Regions from separate parts of the Homo sapiens genome. Here region 1 is linked to region 2. Evidence: promoter capture Hi-C in human tissues and cell types (Jung and others, 2019). All regions are on one chromosome and are shown on one strand. Each heading gives the region's core, a stretch centred on a gene start or on the middle of the fragment in contact. The rest is flanking DNA. Distances are from core to core; before and after follow the strand shown. Region 1 has its middle 130 kb from the start of LINC02815. Region 2 holds the start of ACTA1 (actin alpha 1, skeletal muscle).

Evidence for each region. Contacts are between HindIII fragments. The study calls those that stand out against the background at their distance.
Region 1: a fragment that was not itself captured here is called in contact with the fragment with the promoter of ACTA1 in region 2 in 1 of the 25 tissues and cell types used here (mesendoderm cells).

What each region holds. Positions count from the first base shown.
Region 1 is chr1:229,017,868-229,025,451 of GRCh38, reverse strand. No RefSeq gene overlaps it. Among named protein-coding and RNA genes, the nearest start is that of LINC02815, 130 kb to the left of the region's middle. The HindIII fragment of the contact is 5,472 bases long and covers 2,513-7,584 here.
Region 2 is chr1:229,432,844-229,440,166 of GRCh38, reverse strand. ACTA1 (actin alpha 1, skeletal muscle) reads left to right here and starts at 6,073. Exons shown (of 7, transcript NM_001100.4): 1 at 6,073-6,163; 2 at 7,040-7,180; 3 at 7,287-7,323. The coding sequence starts at 7,052. RefSeq lists silencers at 1,854-1,933, 2,399-2,599, 6,071-6,365. The HindIII fragment of the contact is 14,149 bases long and covers 1,068-7,323 here.

The DNA of each region.
Region 1 (7,584 bases), core at 3,999-6,498, 410 kb after region 2:
GCTCATAATTAGGAAGATGACAGACAAGGATGCTGGCATCCTTCACACTGATGTGCTGTGTAAAGTCCGGCTCGCAGTGTGACCCTGTCACCCCCAGAGGACCAGGACCATTGAGCGGCACCTTCTGACTGGCACAGCTCCTTTGAGGCTCTCAGAGGCGCAGGTTTTCCTCCAGGCCTGGTGGCTCTTCCTGGAGGGGATGGTGCTGCCATCCTCTCTAGCAGTCCAGGGTCTGCACCGTGGGCTTGGTGGGGCCCAGTGTCCTCGGGTCACAGCTCTCAGCAGAATTCTGCTTCTCTGCTGCCTGTGGTAGCTCCTCCACCAGGACCCAGCCAGTGCCAGGAGGGTGGAGTGGGTCCCGGAGGCAGGAACGGGGTAGCAGATCCCTGGAGAGCTGAGCCTGAAGGGACCATGGGCCAGCTTGGGAAGTAAAAAGAACAGTAGAGAGGCTGGAGCCCAGGTGTGGGTCTCAACTGTGGGTCTCAGGACAAGCGAGGGGGTATGTCCCCAGAGGGATGGGAAAGTGGGCCCAAGGCTGAGTGAAAGCACATTGCCAGGAAGAGCCAGGGGACGGAGAGGGAGCCAGAGAAGCAGAGGATTCATCTGCTGTCCTGGGAACCTGTGAGTCACTGCTGCTGAGTCATCAGAGCTGCCTAGAAGCTGCTTGGTTGAACCCAGGAGCAGAATGGGAAGGACCAGAAAGGAAGTTCTTCTCCTTCTCCGGGACCCTGGAAAAGGATCATGGGCGTGGCTGGGCCAGGCAGCACCATGAGGGCATCAGCCTCAGGTGGAGCAGGTCCTGGTCAAAGAGCTCCGTGGTCCAGGCCAAGCTGCTAGAGCAGAGCCCGAGGCCCCTGGCAGTGCGGTGTGGGGACCGTCAGCACGCACTGGCTTACGTTCTAGACTCTACGTTCACTTTAGAGGTGAGGCAATGGAGACCTGGAGACTTGCCCGGGGCCATAGAGAGTCAGAGGCGCTGGTCCTCCAGAGCCCATGCTCCCTAATCACTGCCCAGGGTCTGCAGTGATCAGATCCTGGAGACACAGTGACGAGACCTTATCATGCTTGTATTGTTAAGGGCCCAAACTGAGCTAAATGGCCAATTGAAAGACGGATAGATAAATTCCAAGGATGCTCTCCTTATGGCAATGCCATTTGATTTGCTGGTGTATTTATATATTTGGGGGATTTTTAAACCTCTGAATAAGTATATAAATTTTTTACCATGCTCATGTGAGGAGTCCCCAGGCCTGGGAAATAGGGAAGGACTGCGCAATTTGCTGTTTCTTTAAGGAGTGGAGCATCTGCCACCATTCTGTGTCTGGCTGCTCTCCCAGAACCTGGTGCACTGACAAGGCCAGGCTGTGGCTCAGGTCCACATCCCAGGAACTGCCCTGCCCTGGGTGCGTTGATGGCGATGTTGGACGTGAAGGTGTCTGTGGGCTTAGTGTGCACACTCTCCCCTTTAGAGAAGTGGATGCTGGGAGTTTTATGTTGTCCCATGCTCCATCTGGCAGGACCCAGTCACCTGGATGCTGGTGTGGCCTGGGCCGACCGAGTATCTGTATCAGCTGCCGTCTTAGTGCTCTAAAATTTGCCAGTTCCCTTCCTGGGCTGATGGCCTGCAGGCTGTGCTGGCTGTCTCCATGGGAGCAAGGCTGTGGACTGCTGTGTGTCCCAGAGAGGAAGTGGACTACTGAGTTATGTGCGTACGACAGCCTGTGGTTTCTCTGTAGGCTGCAGCAGACCCAGCAGATGAGCCAAGGAGACCCTCCTTGCCTCTGCTCCACGCCGTTCACCATCCTCTGATTCTGTCCACCTCATAAATGAGAAATCCGAGGCTCCCTGAGGGTCAATGCATTGATCAAGGTTCAACTGCTTGGAAGTGGCATATCCCCAACTCAAAGTTAAGCTTTTTTATGCAAAAGCTGGTGCTACACTGTTGTACCTAGTGCCTGTTATATCTTGTGAGTAATTTTGCTTTGGCAGGACAGACCAGCAGTCTAGAAATCGTTTCTTAGTGATGCTAAAGGGCACCATGGTGGAGTCTTTTCCTTCATGACTAGAGTGATGTGCCTGCCCCAGGGAGCTCCTGACCTCTCCCTGGACTAATCAATGATGTTTGCAATGAATTATCCCACCCGAGATTTCCTTCTCCAAAAGAGGGGTTTTGCAGGGGCTCTGCTGTTTGGATAAGGCGGTGAGTCAAGGTAAGATTAGAAGCCTCTTGATCTGCAGAGAATAGTGCATTGTGGGTTCTGGCTGCACCCTACAGGGTTGGGACCCAGGCACTTCCTTTTCTGTATTGCTTGTTTGCAAGGAAAGGGCTCCTATGTCATCCATAGTGACCAAGCGGGTGATGACAAGTGTTCTTGCTCCCATCATGGGTATCTCTGGCCTGGACAGCCAGGAAGAAAATAGTGATTAACTTTGCGCCAGCTTTCCTTTCTCTGGTTGATTTGGCAAAAATGCTCTGACTTTCCCTTTTGTTCTGTTTGAGGAAAATTTTAGCAGGAGGAAAGATTTTGTCAGGCTGAATTGATCCAGTTGTGTTTCCAGGGCATCCAAGCCTCTCCCTGCGGCCCTGGCCCGCCTCCTCCCCATGCACCAGGCTCTGGCTCCCGGGTACTCCTCCTGCCATGGGGCCCACGCAGCAGCTACAATGCATGCTTTGTTCAGGGAGCCCTGGGGAGGCAGCTGGCTACAAAAAAGTTCATCCACTAACTGGGCTTGTCCTTGACATCTGGCTTCTCTCCTAGGACCTCATTTTCCCCAACTTAAGTGGGATTTTGAATTAATGAAATTATAGCCCTTTGAACTGACTTGAGAATTCTCTCCCAGGCTCAAATTACATCTCCACTCAGTGTGTCTAGATGGCTCCAACACTTTCACAGATCATCCCCTCCCAACCCCTAGGAGATCATCTACATTGCTGTTTTCCAGTTGTAGAAGAATGTGATTCAATAGAACCTACTGCCTGAGACAGTGATAGCATGTGTGCATTTATTGAGAGCACTATACTAGGCATTTTATACTAATTTTCTCTAAAATTCACAACCCATAAGGTAAATAATGATACAATATCCCAATTTTTCTGACAAGGAGACCAAAGCTTTTGTCTACAGTTACTCAGCTAGAGGGTGGCAGAAGCTAGATTTGAACCCATATCCCTCTAATGCTAAAGCCTGTGAGACTCCACGGTGTCCCTCTAAGTCACAAGTTGTCTGTGAGTGTATATTTACAAACACATGTGGACAAAAATTTTGATAGTAGCATCCACAAACGTCACATTGAGATGTGAAACAGGCCTCTAATAAATCAGATCGGGATATCTTCTTTGCTTCTCACCTGGCATGATGCTGGGTTTGTGGCAAGATACAAATATGTATAAAGTTGGCCTCCTGTTGCCTCAACACGAGATGCCTTTACATCCTAAAATTGCTATTACTTAAGTTAAAATACATCACACAGTCTACTTCAGCCTGCTTCAGGTCAACTTGTGGTTGTCACAGGGGCCAGCCTCAGAGGTAGACAGAGTTTAGACTTTTCAGTCTTACCCCCAGTGTCCTTCTTCTCTCACTGGGAATTTCCCTTTGATATTCCCACCAAATACCCTTGCCCTGGATGGAGTCATATTCTCTGAAGTATCTTCCATTCAAGGGTCCTAAGAGTCAAGGTCATTCCTGATGGAAACACACGCCTAGGAAAAGAAAATCAACCCTCAATGTGATCTAGGTCCTTTAGATCTAATTTCCACTTTTTAAAAAAATCCAAGGGTCAGAGGGACATGTTAAATGACACCATAAGAACATAGCAGCAAGTCCAGACTGGGGGAAACTGCAGGACAAATGACCTGGTTTCTTCTCCAATAAGAATTTGTAAAGAAAAAAAGGCCAAGTGTAGGTGCCCATGCCTGTAATCCTAGCACTTTGGGAAGCTGAGGTGGCGGGATCGCTCGAGCTCAGGAGTTCAGCCTGGGCCACATAATGAGACCTCATCTCTACTAAAAATTAAAAAAAAATTCACTGGGCATAGTGGCACCCACCTGTAGTCCTGGCTGTTTGGGAGCCTGAGGTGGGAAGATTGCTTGAGCCCAGGAGGTTGAGGCTGCAGTGAGCCGTGATTGTGCCACTGCACTCCAGCCTGGGGGACAGAATGAAACTGTATTGAAGAAGAAGAACAAGAACAAGAAGAAGAAGAAGAAGAGGAAGAGGAAGAGGAAGAGGAGGAAGAGGAGGAGGAGGAGGAAGAGGAAGAGGAAGAAAGAAGAAGAAGAAGGAGGATTTATAGAATATGTAGATAGAAAGAAACTTCAGAGACAAATCAACCAATCTCAGTATATGAATCTCTTATTAAATCCAGAGTCAAACAAATGAAGTACAAATTACAAGACAATTGGGAAAATGCAAACACTGGCTGGGTATATTATGAGACTAAGGACTAACATTAATTTCTTAAAAAGTAAGAATGATGTTATCATAATCATATATTTTTAAAAACAGCCCTTATCAATTGAAATACTTAGATATGCAATGATATGATATTTGTTCATACTAGTATTTGTTATACCATAGTCAGGGTAGGCAGCAGTTAATTGCTGGGTGTATAGACAAAATACTGTCTGCCATGTGTTGATAATTATTAAAACCAGGTAATGGATATGTTGGATTATTAAATATTGTCTGTAATTTTATATATATTTGAAATTTTCCATAATAATGAGTTAAAAAAAAAAACAAAAGAAAATAAGGGCATACCCCTTTATGCTCCGTCCCCAGTGGGTGGCCCAAGTGGAGGGTGGAGAACTTCGACTCTGGATTCAACCAGACTAGTTGGGCTCGCTGTGCCCACCACTGCCCAACTGGGAGCTCCACTGGATGGAACCCTGGCCTGATGTAACCATGGCTCACTGAGGACCAATCAGAAGGAGAAAGAGCTAGCTAGCACATTTAGAGGACAATCAGGAGAGTAATGGAAAGGAATTACCAGCACAATGGCAATCTATGAAAAGCACTTTGTAAATTGGGAATTAATAAATTCTTTTTAGTTACAATTCATGTATTCTTAGAACTAGGGATATAGCAATGTTCACAAATCCTCTTCCAGAGGAATTTAGAAAAAATAATTAGAGGATGGTGCAGAAACACAAGGATACAAATGATGTGGAAATGCCAGAGAGAGATCATGGCTGATGGGTAGGAAACTGAGGAATGACCTCAAGCATGCCTGGACTACCCCTGGTCCCAGGCTGGTGGGTTCAGGATGCACAGGGTGGGGCTGTCCTCCTTCCCGCCTGGCTAGCCTGCCTGGCAAGGCTAGCTCTTCACGGAACCGGCTCAAGAATAGAGATTGCACAAGTGTTTCAGCAAAGTGCTGCCACCTGGCAAGACTAGAATGCCAAGAAAACTAGAAGAGCCAGCAGGAGCAGAGAACTCCTGTCAAAGTGAAAGTGGGGGAGTGCCTTAGTCTGAGGGTTCAGCTCTCAGACAGTCAGTGTGTGCTGGGTGGATAGTGTGAGAGCGGGCCATGTCGCCCTTTCCTTTTGCTGCCTCCGGCCCTTGTCTCGAGAGCTACCTCTCTGGTCCTCAGATATCCCAAGAAGGCAGGACGGGGAAGGGGTCAGGTCCCCAGTGGTGGAGCTGGGAGGGGAACACTTATTTGTCCATTCAGGCAGGCTGGTGAAGGACTTAGGACTGCCCTGGTCATGCTGGGCTGATGTCATGCACTCAGGGACCAGGTTTGCATCCTAGCCTGCTTCCTATTTGTTTCTGTCCTTGGACAGGTTATTCATTTACCTCATCAGTAAAATAGGGATCCTCCTTCTGCACTGCTATCATAATTGAGATTATTGCCACGTGTTTCCAGGTAGGGGTTTGAGAGGGAGAATGAGCAAGAGGTGGTGAGGTGCGGGGACAAAACATGGGCTCCAGGGACAGACAGAGAGGAGAGATAAATCCCTGTTCCTCTTCTTGCCAGCACTTGGATAAGATTTTTAGAAATTTACATTTTCCCGTTGCTCAAAATTGTTGTTATCTTCTTTTACATTTTCTAGACAAACAAGTAAAAGTTTCTTCCATAATCCAGCTTCTCTCCCCCATCAATGTTGTAAAGAAAACCAGTAGTACTTAAGAGAGTGGATGGCAGGCATGGTGTGATTATGTGTGAGAGCTCTTGGGAAGCACTCAGTGTATTGGAACTTTCTTTCAAAGAAAGGAAGTGAGAGAAACAAACAAGTTAAGGGGACTGCTATGGTCTGAATGTTTGTCCCCCCCTCACCCCAACATTCATATTTTGAAATTTTAACCTCCAATGTGATGATATTTGGAGTTGGGGCCTTTGGGAGGTGATTAGCCCATGAGGGTGGGGCCCTCATGAGTTGGATGAGTGGCCTTATAAAAGAGATCCCAGAGAGCTCCCTCATCCCTTCCACCATGTGAGGACACAGAAAGAAGGTGCCGTCTGTGGACCAGAAAATGAGCCCTCACCAGACACGGAATCTTTGGCACCTTCTTCATGGAGTTCCAGCCTCCACAGCAGTGAGGAAGGAGTTTCTGTGTCTTGGAAGATGCCCAGCCCAAGGCATTTTGTTATAGCAGCTGGAATGGACTAAGACAGTGACCATTCTCCCTTTGCAACCACAGCAACACAGGGTTTTGAAAGCAGTCAATAAATGAGTCATATTAAATCACAGAAAATAATTCTCATATGGAAAAGTCATCTCTTTGTCTCCTTTTGCCTGCTGGGAAAGGCTGTCTCCTCTGAGCCTCCTTCTAGTGATCATGCACAGGTGTCGGTTAGAGATTCACTCTCAGTCTGTGGCTTTATTCACATCTGCTGCATCAGAGCTCAGCATTTGGGAGCCAGAGCCCACTGGGACAAGGGACAGCCACCATCTGGGAGGCAGAGCTGGGAGCCAGAAGGCACCCTTTTCTCCAGGACAGGACCACCACAGGCCTGGCTGTCTCTGTGATGGGCCCCCATCTCTGTCCTCTGAAGCCTTACCAGAAAAGTTATCGGCTGCAGGGAGATGGAGATATGAAGCCACTTTGAGGTCCTCAAAAAAAAGTTGCTCTAACACGACCAAACTCAGTATCTTTCAGAAGGCGGCCAGTTAGTGCTGTGGATGGGAGCCCTAAATGGTGACCTGGAATTGCAGCCTCACTGAGAGGCTTCCCCAGGGATCTGAGGCATGCAGCTCTCACTCTGCCACAGAGATGGCATCTGAATTGCCTTCTGTCCACGGAGGAGCAACAGCAGTGTCCCCACAAAGTAGTAGTGGGGACCTGGCTGTGGGCAGACTGAGACAGGGCCTGAAATATGCCAGGGAGTGGCTAAGTGGCAAACGGGAGCTAGAAATGGAGGGACCTGGGGAAGGGCAGCTCAATCGAGCACAAGTGGCACTCGCAGAGCAAGCAGGAGGAGTGTGAGACCATGCTTGTCGCATCCAGCTACCTGCACAGTGGGTGCTCCCGCCTCTCCCTAGTCCCCTGCATCAGCCCAGTCTCCATCATGCTGGCTCTCCACTTGCTGTGGCACTGAAAATTCCAGCCGAGGGCATTTCTACCAAGTTATTACTGACCAATA
Region 2 (7,323 bases), core at 4,824-7,323:
GTAGCTGATAAGTATACAGATGCTGTGTTGACATTTCTGTGGAAAGAGATACTTTACTGACTTGGAAAAGGTTCGTGATCACACCTGTCTATAAGTGCTGCCCTGAGAGTCCCAGCTTGGGACCTTGACAGAATACAAGAGTAAAGTGTCGTGTGCGATCCTGAGCAGAGGGGAGTGTACGCAGGCATGGAGACTGGCGCGTCTGGAGGATTTGTGGACAGAATGGTGTCAAGGATTGCAGCAGACCTGGAGATAGACAGTAAAAACTTGCTGAACTCCTGAGTGAGGTAAAGGCTACTGACGCCTCTCTTTGAGGGCTTTCATTTTTAATGATTGAACTGTGTTTCTTTTTTTACTTTAGGGGCTGAATCGTAGTTTTCCTACCATCACCCACCTACATCCTACACACCTGGACATTTTGAGGCTAACTACAAAAGCAGTGTAGCCTGTTCCTGACATTTTATCCTGAGGATGCGTGAAAAAAAAAAAAAAAATATATATATATATATATATATACACACACACACACCCGTGTAAACAAATCCACTCATTAAAAACCAAGATACATTTAAAAAAAATAATACTGGGTCAGGTATGGTGGCTCACACCTGTAATCCTAGCACTTTGGGTGACCAAGATGGGAGAATCGTTTGAGCTGAGGAATTCACAACCAGCCTGGGCAACACAGCAAGACCCTGTCTGTACAAAAAAAATTACAAAAATTAGCCAGGCATGGTTATGTGTGCCTGTAGTCCTAGCTACTTGTGAGGCTGAGTTGGGAGGATTGCTTGAGCCCAGGAGTTTGTGACTACAGTGAGCCATGATCACACCACTGCACTCCAGCCTGGGTGACAGATTAAGACCCTGTCTCAAATAATATTATGTAATTCTAAATTTTAAGAAAAACACTGTAGAAAATGAAAAAGAAAATAGACCTCTGTAATCCCACCAGCTGGAAATAATTAGTCACCATTATGAAATAGACTTTTGGACTGCATATGCTTTTTCATTTTGTAACCTACTTTTCTCATGGGAGATGTGAGCATTTTGCTGTATCCTTAATCCAGTGTTTCTTGACCTTTTTTTTTTTATCACCCCTCCTGAGGAGCCTTTTTAGACAGTTTTTCCTAATCACCTCCCACTCCAAAGAAAGTGTAATACCACAGACCTACTATATATCATTCATTCATTCATTCATTCATTCATTCATTCATTTGGAAATGGAGTCTTGCTCTGTCACCCAGGCTGGAGTGCAGTGGCGCGATCTTGGCTCGCTGCAACCTCTGCCTCCTGGGTTCAAGCAATTCTCCTGCCTCAGCCTCCCGAGTAGCTGGGATTACAGGCACCCGCCATCATGCCTGGCTAATTTTTGTATTTTTAATAGAGACAGGGTTTCACCATGTTGGCCAGGCTGGTCTAGAACTCCTGACCTCAGGTGATCTGCCTGCCTCGGCCTCCCAAAGTGCTGGGATTATAGGCGTGAGCCACCACACTTGGCCGACTATCTTTTAAATGTACTGTGGCCTTTGGAAGCCATAAACCATTGTACTATCTGAATTTTTTTCACTCTCTAAGAACCAAGTTTTCCCCCTTTGAGAATGCCCATCTTAATTATTATTTAGAATACAATGTTTTAAATGCGTGATACTTTACCATATGGCAGAACCATAATTAATGTAACAGCCCTTATTCTCTTGCTGTAGCTCTCTCTCAAAAGACACATTTTTTTGACCATTTTAAATAATGCTAGAATAAATCTTTGTACAAAAATCTTTATGCCCTCCAAATACGGTGAACATGACATTGACTCTCCTTGCTCAGTTGCAGTGACATTGATGTGTGTATACTGAGCAGGCCAATGACTTTAATGTTCTTTTCTCACCTTTTCTGCCACTGCACTGTGTGCACCTGCCCCAAGCCCTTAGTCATTGGAAGCAAGACATGGCACCATGTGCTGAATGTTTCATATGTCTTAGGTACTCACCTAGTTTGTTGTTTTGTTTTTGGTTTTGGTTTTGGTTTTTTGAGACGGAGTCTTGCTCTGTTCCTAGGCTGGAGTGCAGTAGCGCAATCTCAGCTCACTGCAGCCTGTCTCTTGGGTTCAAGAGATTCTCCTGCCTCAGCCTCCCTAGTAGCTGGGATTACAGGCACCCGCCACCATGCCCAGCTAATTTTTTTGTATTTTTAGTAGAGACCAGGTTTCACCATGTTGGCCAGGCTGGTGTTGAACTCCTGACCTCAAGTGATCTGTCCACCTGGGCCTCCCAAAGTGCTGGGATTACAGACGTGAGCCACCGCACTCAGCTCTCACCTGGTTTTAATCCTCAGATCAGTCTTAAGGAGTATTGTGAGTTGAGAATGCTTTCTGGAAAGTCACTTGTCCAAGATCACATAGCCAGTCAGAGGGGAAGGTAAATGCAGCTCTGCTTGATTCCAGAATGCAAGCTCCTAACCAGTTCATGATATTCTGGGTATAAAGAATGTTGAAGAGAGGGCACTGCTCCAATGAATCATCAGGTTCTTAGAGGTGGCCATGAGTGCAAAAACCACCAGCTTCAGGAGGAGGAAAAAGTAGAAAATCCAAGCCCAAGCCCTTTCTTTGGGCTGCCAGGAGTTGACTCAACTTTTTTTTTTTTTTTTTTTTTGAGATGGAGTCTCTCTCTGTTGCCCAGGCCTGGCGTGCAGTGGTGGGATCTCGGCTCACTGCAACCTCTGCCTCCCAGGTTCAAGTGATTCTCCTGTCTCAGCCTCCCGAGTAGCTGGGATTATAGGTGTGCACCACCACGCCTGGCTAATTTTTGTGTTTTTAGTAGAGACGGGGTTTCACCATGTTGGCCAGGCTGGTCTTGAACTCCTGACCTCAAGTGATCCACCAGCCTCGGCTTCCCAAAGTGCTGGGATTACAGGCATGGGCCACCGCGCCTGGCCGACCCGACGTTTTTAAGTAGCTTGTGAGAATGAGTTGGTCTTTGTCTACCCTGTTCCTGGAATATCTCTAACTTGGAGTGCCCAGCCAGCCCCTCAAAGCTGAGTTTCTGGGGAAGCTACGGCTTTTCATGTCAGGATGTCTTTGGCTCATTACTGGGAAAGATCCCTCAAGGGCCTGTTCTGTTTCGAACTGTACCCAGTGTTGGTGAGGATTAGAGAGAAGCAGCAGTCCTTGCCCTCCCTGGCCACTGGCAGTAGAAGGAAGGACAGCCCAAGCCCGTCTCCTCCACTGGCTGCTGTGGAACCTGGGGTGTGTTTTAGCTCATTAAGCCTCAGTTTTCTTTAAAAAAGAAAAAAAACTGGAATGAGTAATACCTATCTTATTTACCTTAGGATAGTTAAACGGTTAATTGAAACACGAAAGCATATTATAAAGTGTTTTACCAATTCCTGTTTAAATTGATAGGAAACACAGTAGGAAGACTGGAACTGAGCAAGATTGGGGTACGGGTGTGTGGAGTGTTGAGGGGCACAATTGGAGAGAAGGGAAGTGTGAACACACCGGGGTAGTGGTAGCAGAAGGGCCCGGTCAGGGTATGAAGAGCTGAGGCTGCACCTGAAAACTTAGAAGCAGGAACTCCCTGTCAAGCATACCCTACATGGCTGACCTTTACTTAGTGACAGTTCTCAAAAGGCGGAGCAGGGCGCCGCTGCGCTCCCCCAAAACATACATGTATGGAGACGTGGCTCTGCCACCCACCATTCAGTCTATTCTCTAAGCCAATGAGAATGCAACAAGACCAGAATGGGACTGAGGGTGGCCTGTGGTGACCTGTCAGGGACTATTTAAACCAGCCGCAAATCATGTGGGCAGGGAACAGATGCCTGGCTGGCCACCTCAGGGGCCATCTCCCACAGTTTGCTGTACTAGCAGGTCTCTGTTCGCTTGTGAGTGTTTTTAATCATGGTCAGCTTTTAGTGTGGGTTTGAATGTAACAGACTGAGCTTAGAAAAGCTTTCTGTAAGGAAAGGTAAGAGTTGAACTGAGCAAGAGTTTTGAAAAATAGTGACAATCCCATTCTCCTTTGGAATGCGCACAAATATTGAGGTATCCAGTGAACGGCAGCAAATTTCCTACCTTCAAGGCCCAAATGTAAGCTAGTCCCCTTACGTTACATGCAGCTCATTTGCTAAGTGGTTTTTTTCTAGTATCTCCACTACTCGCTGACACAGGAGGACACAGGATGTTAAAAAGGAAATACAGTTCTGTCAATTATTCACTTACTCTCCAAAATACTTGGAAGAACTAAATATGGAACCATAGGAGACTTTATCCTCACCGCATAGTCCCTATACTAGTCAAACTCCTTATTTTTTAATTGATCATTTTTAGGAAGGTAGCATTTTATTCACTAGAACATTTTTGTTAATACTTGTTTATTTTTGGGATGAACTGCCATGATGTGGGCTACAGAGGAGGGTCGCATATGCTTCCATCCCCCTTTTAGAGAATCCACACCTGTCCCAGTTGCTGGGTTCCACTACCAAAAGTGAATTGCAACTATTTTAGGAGCACTTAAGCACATCCGAAAAATGAGTGATTCTGTTCTGGCCCACACCACATCACTGATGTACCCCCTTAAAGCATGTCCCTGAGTTCATCACAGAAGACTGCTCCTCCTGTGCCCTCCACAAGGTTAGAACTGTCCTTGTCTTAGGGAAAAAGGAGAGAGAGAGAGAGAGAGAGAGAGAGAGAGAGAGAGAGAGAGAGAGAGAGGGACAGGCACCAACTGGGTAACCTCTGCTGACCCCCACTCTACTTTACCATAAGTAGCTCCAAATCCTTCTAGAAAATCTGAAAGGCATAGCCCCATATATCAGTGATATAAATAGAACCTGCAGCAGGCTCTGGTAAATGATGACTACAAGGTGGACTGGGAGGCAGCCCGGCCTTGGCAGGCATCATCCTCTAAATATAAAGATGAGTTTGTTCAGCCTTTGCAGAAGGAAAAACTGCCACCCATCCTAGAGTGCCGCGTCCTTGTCCCCCCACCCCCTCCAATTTATTGGGAGGAAGGACCAGCTAAGCCTCATCTAGGAAGAGCCCCTCACCCATCTCCACCTCCACTCCAGGTCTAGCCAGTCCTGGGTTGTGACCCTTGTCTTTCAGCCCCAGGAGAGGGACACACATAGTGCCACCAAAGAGGCTGGGGGAGGGCCTCAGCCCACCAAAACCTGGGGCCAGTGCGTCCTACAGGAGGGGAACCCTCACCCCTTCAATCCCTTTAGGAGACCCAAGGGCGCTGCGCGTCCCTGAGGCGGACAGCTCCGTGTGCTCAGGCTTTGCGCCTGACAGGCCTATCCCCGGGAGCCCCCGCGCCTCCTCCCCGGCGCTCCGCCCTCGCCTCCCCCCGCCAGTTGTCTATCCTGCGACAGCTGCGCGCCCTCCGGCCGCCGGTGGCCCTCTGTGCGGTGGGGGAAGGGGTCGACGTGGCTCAGCTTTTTGGATTCAGGGAGCTCGGGGGTGGGAAGAGAGAAATGGAGTTCCAGGGGCGTAAAGGAGAGGGAGTTCGCCTTCCTTCCCTTCCTGAGACTCAGGAGTGACTGCTTCTCCAATCCTCCCAAGCCCACCACTCCACACGACTCCCTCTTCCCGGTAGTCGCAAGTGGGAGTTTGGGGATCTGAGCAAAGAACCCGAAGAGGAGTTGAAATATTGGAAGTCAGCAGTCAGGCACCTTCCCGAGCGCCCAGGGCGCTCAGAGTGGACATGGTTGGGGAGGCCTTTGGGACAGGTGCGGTTCCCGGAGCGCAGGCGCACACATGCACCCACCGGCGAACGCGGTGACCCTCGCCCCACCCCATCCCCTCCGGCGGGCAACTGGGTCGGGTCAGGAGGGGCAAACCCGCTAGGGAGACACTCCATATACGGCCCGGCCCGCGTTACCTGGGACCGGGCCAACCCGCTCCTTCTTTGGTCAACGCAGGGGACCCGGGCGGGGGCCCAGGCCGCGAACCGGCCGAGGGAGGGGGCTCTAGTGCCCAACACCCAAATATGGCTCGAGAAGGGCAGCGACATTCCTGCGGGGTGGCGCGGAGGGAATGCCCGCGGGCTATATAAAACCTGAGCAGAGGGACAAGCGGCCACCGCAGCGGACAGCGCCAAGTGAAGCCTCGCTTCCCCTCCGCGGCGACCAGGGCCCGAGCCGAGAGTAGCAGTTGTAGCTACCCGCCCAGGTAGGGCAGGAGTTGGGAGGGGACAGGGGGACAGGGCACTACCGAGGGGAACCTGAAGGACTCCGGGGCAGAACCCAGTCGGTTCACCTGGTCAGCCCCAGGCCTGCGCCCTGAGCGCTGTGCCTCGTCTCCGGAGCCACACGCGCTTTAAAAAGGAGGCAAGACAGTCAGCCTCTGGAAATTAGACTTCTCCAAATTTTTCTCTAGCCCCTTTGGGCTCCTTTACCTGGCATGTAGGATGTGCCTAGGGAGATAAACGGTTTTGCTTTAGTTGTCGCCAAGGCAGTTCCCTTCCAAACTAGCGCTAGAGCGAATGAGCGAGCAGCCAGGACCACCCATTCTGGGTTTCCAACAGGCGAAAAGGCCCTTTCTGAGTTTGAAATGTCACAGGGTTCCTAACAGGCCACTCTTCCCTGGATGGGGTGCCAACGCCTTTCCCATGGGCATCTCCTTCCACCCTCACGCTGGCCCAGCAAGCAGGCAGTGCTGAGGCCTTATCTCCCTAGGTGACAGATGTGGTCAGGGAGGCGCAGAGAGGATGGGCACTAGCGTCCAGCTCCTGGAACAGGTGTCAGGCAGGGAGGGCAGACAGGTCTTGGGGAACATGTTCCCCTGGCTATGTGGACAGAGGACTTCTCAGTGGGGTCTCGCGACCCTGTGCCCCTTTTCCTGGTTCAGGGCAGCCCTTAGCCGGGGCAAAGGTCGAGAAGAGAACCCCTGGTCGCCGCCCTGGCAGAATTTGAGTGGCTCCGGCAGGAGATGTCCCTAGGTTCCTGGGGAGGGAGGACGTCGGGGCCAGCCAGGCTTACCCCCCCCTGCCGCTGAGACTTCTGCGCTGATGCACCGCGCCTCTTCGCGGTCTCCCTGTCCTTGCAGAAACTAGACACAATGTGCGACGAAGACGAGACCACCGCCCTCGTGTGCGACAATGGCTCCGGCCTGGTGAAAGCCGGCTTCGCCGGGGATGACGCCCCTAGGGCCGTGTTCCCGTCCATCGTGGGCCGCCCCCGACACCAGGTCAGGCTGCCCCTCCGCAGAGGGAGCCGGCTCGGGGTCCCCGCGTAAGCCAGCCTGGTGCCACCCGGAGCGGCGTTAACGGGTGCGTGGTGTCTCGGCTCTGCAGGGCGTCATGGTCGGTATGGGTCAGAAAGATTCCTACG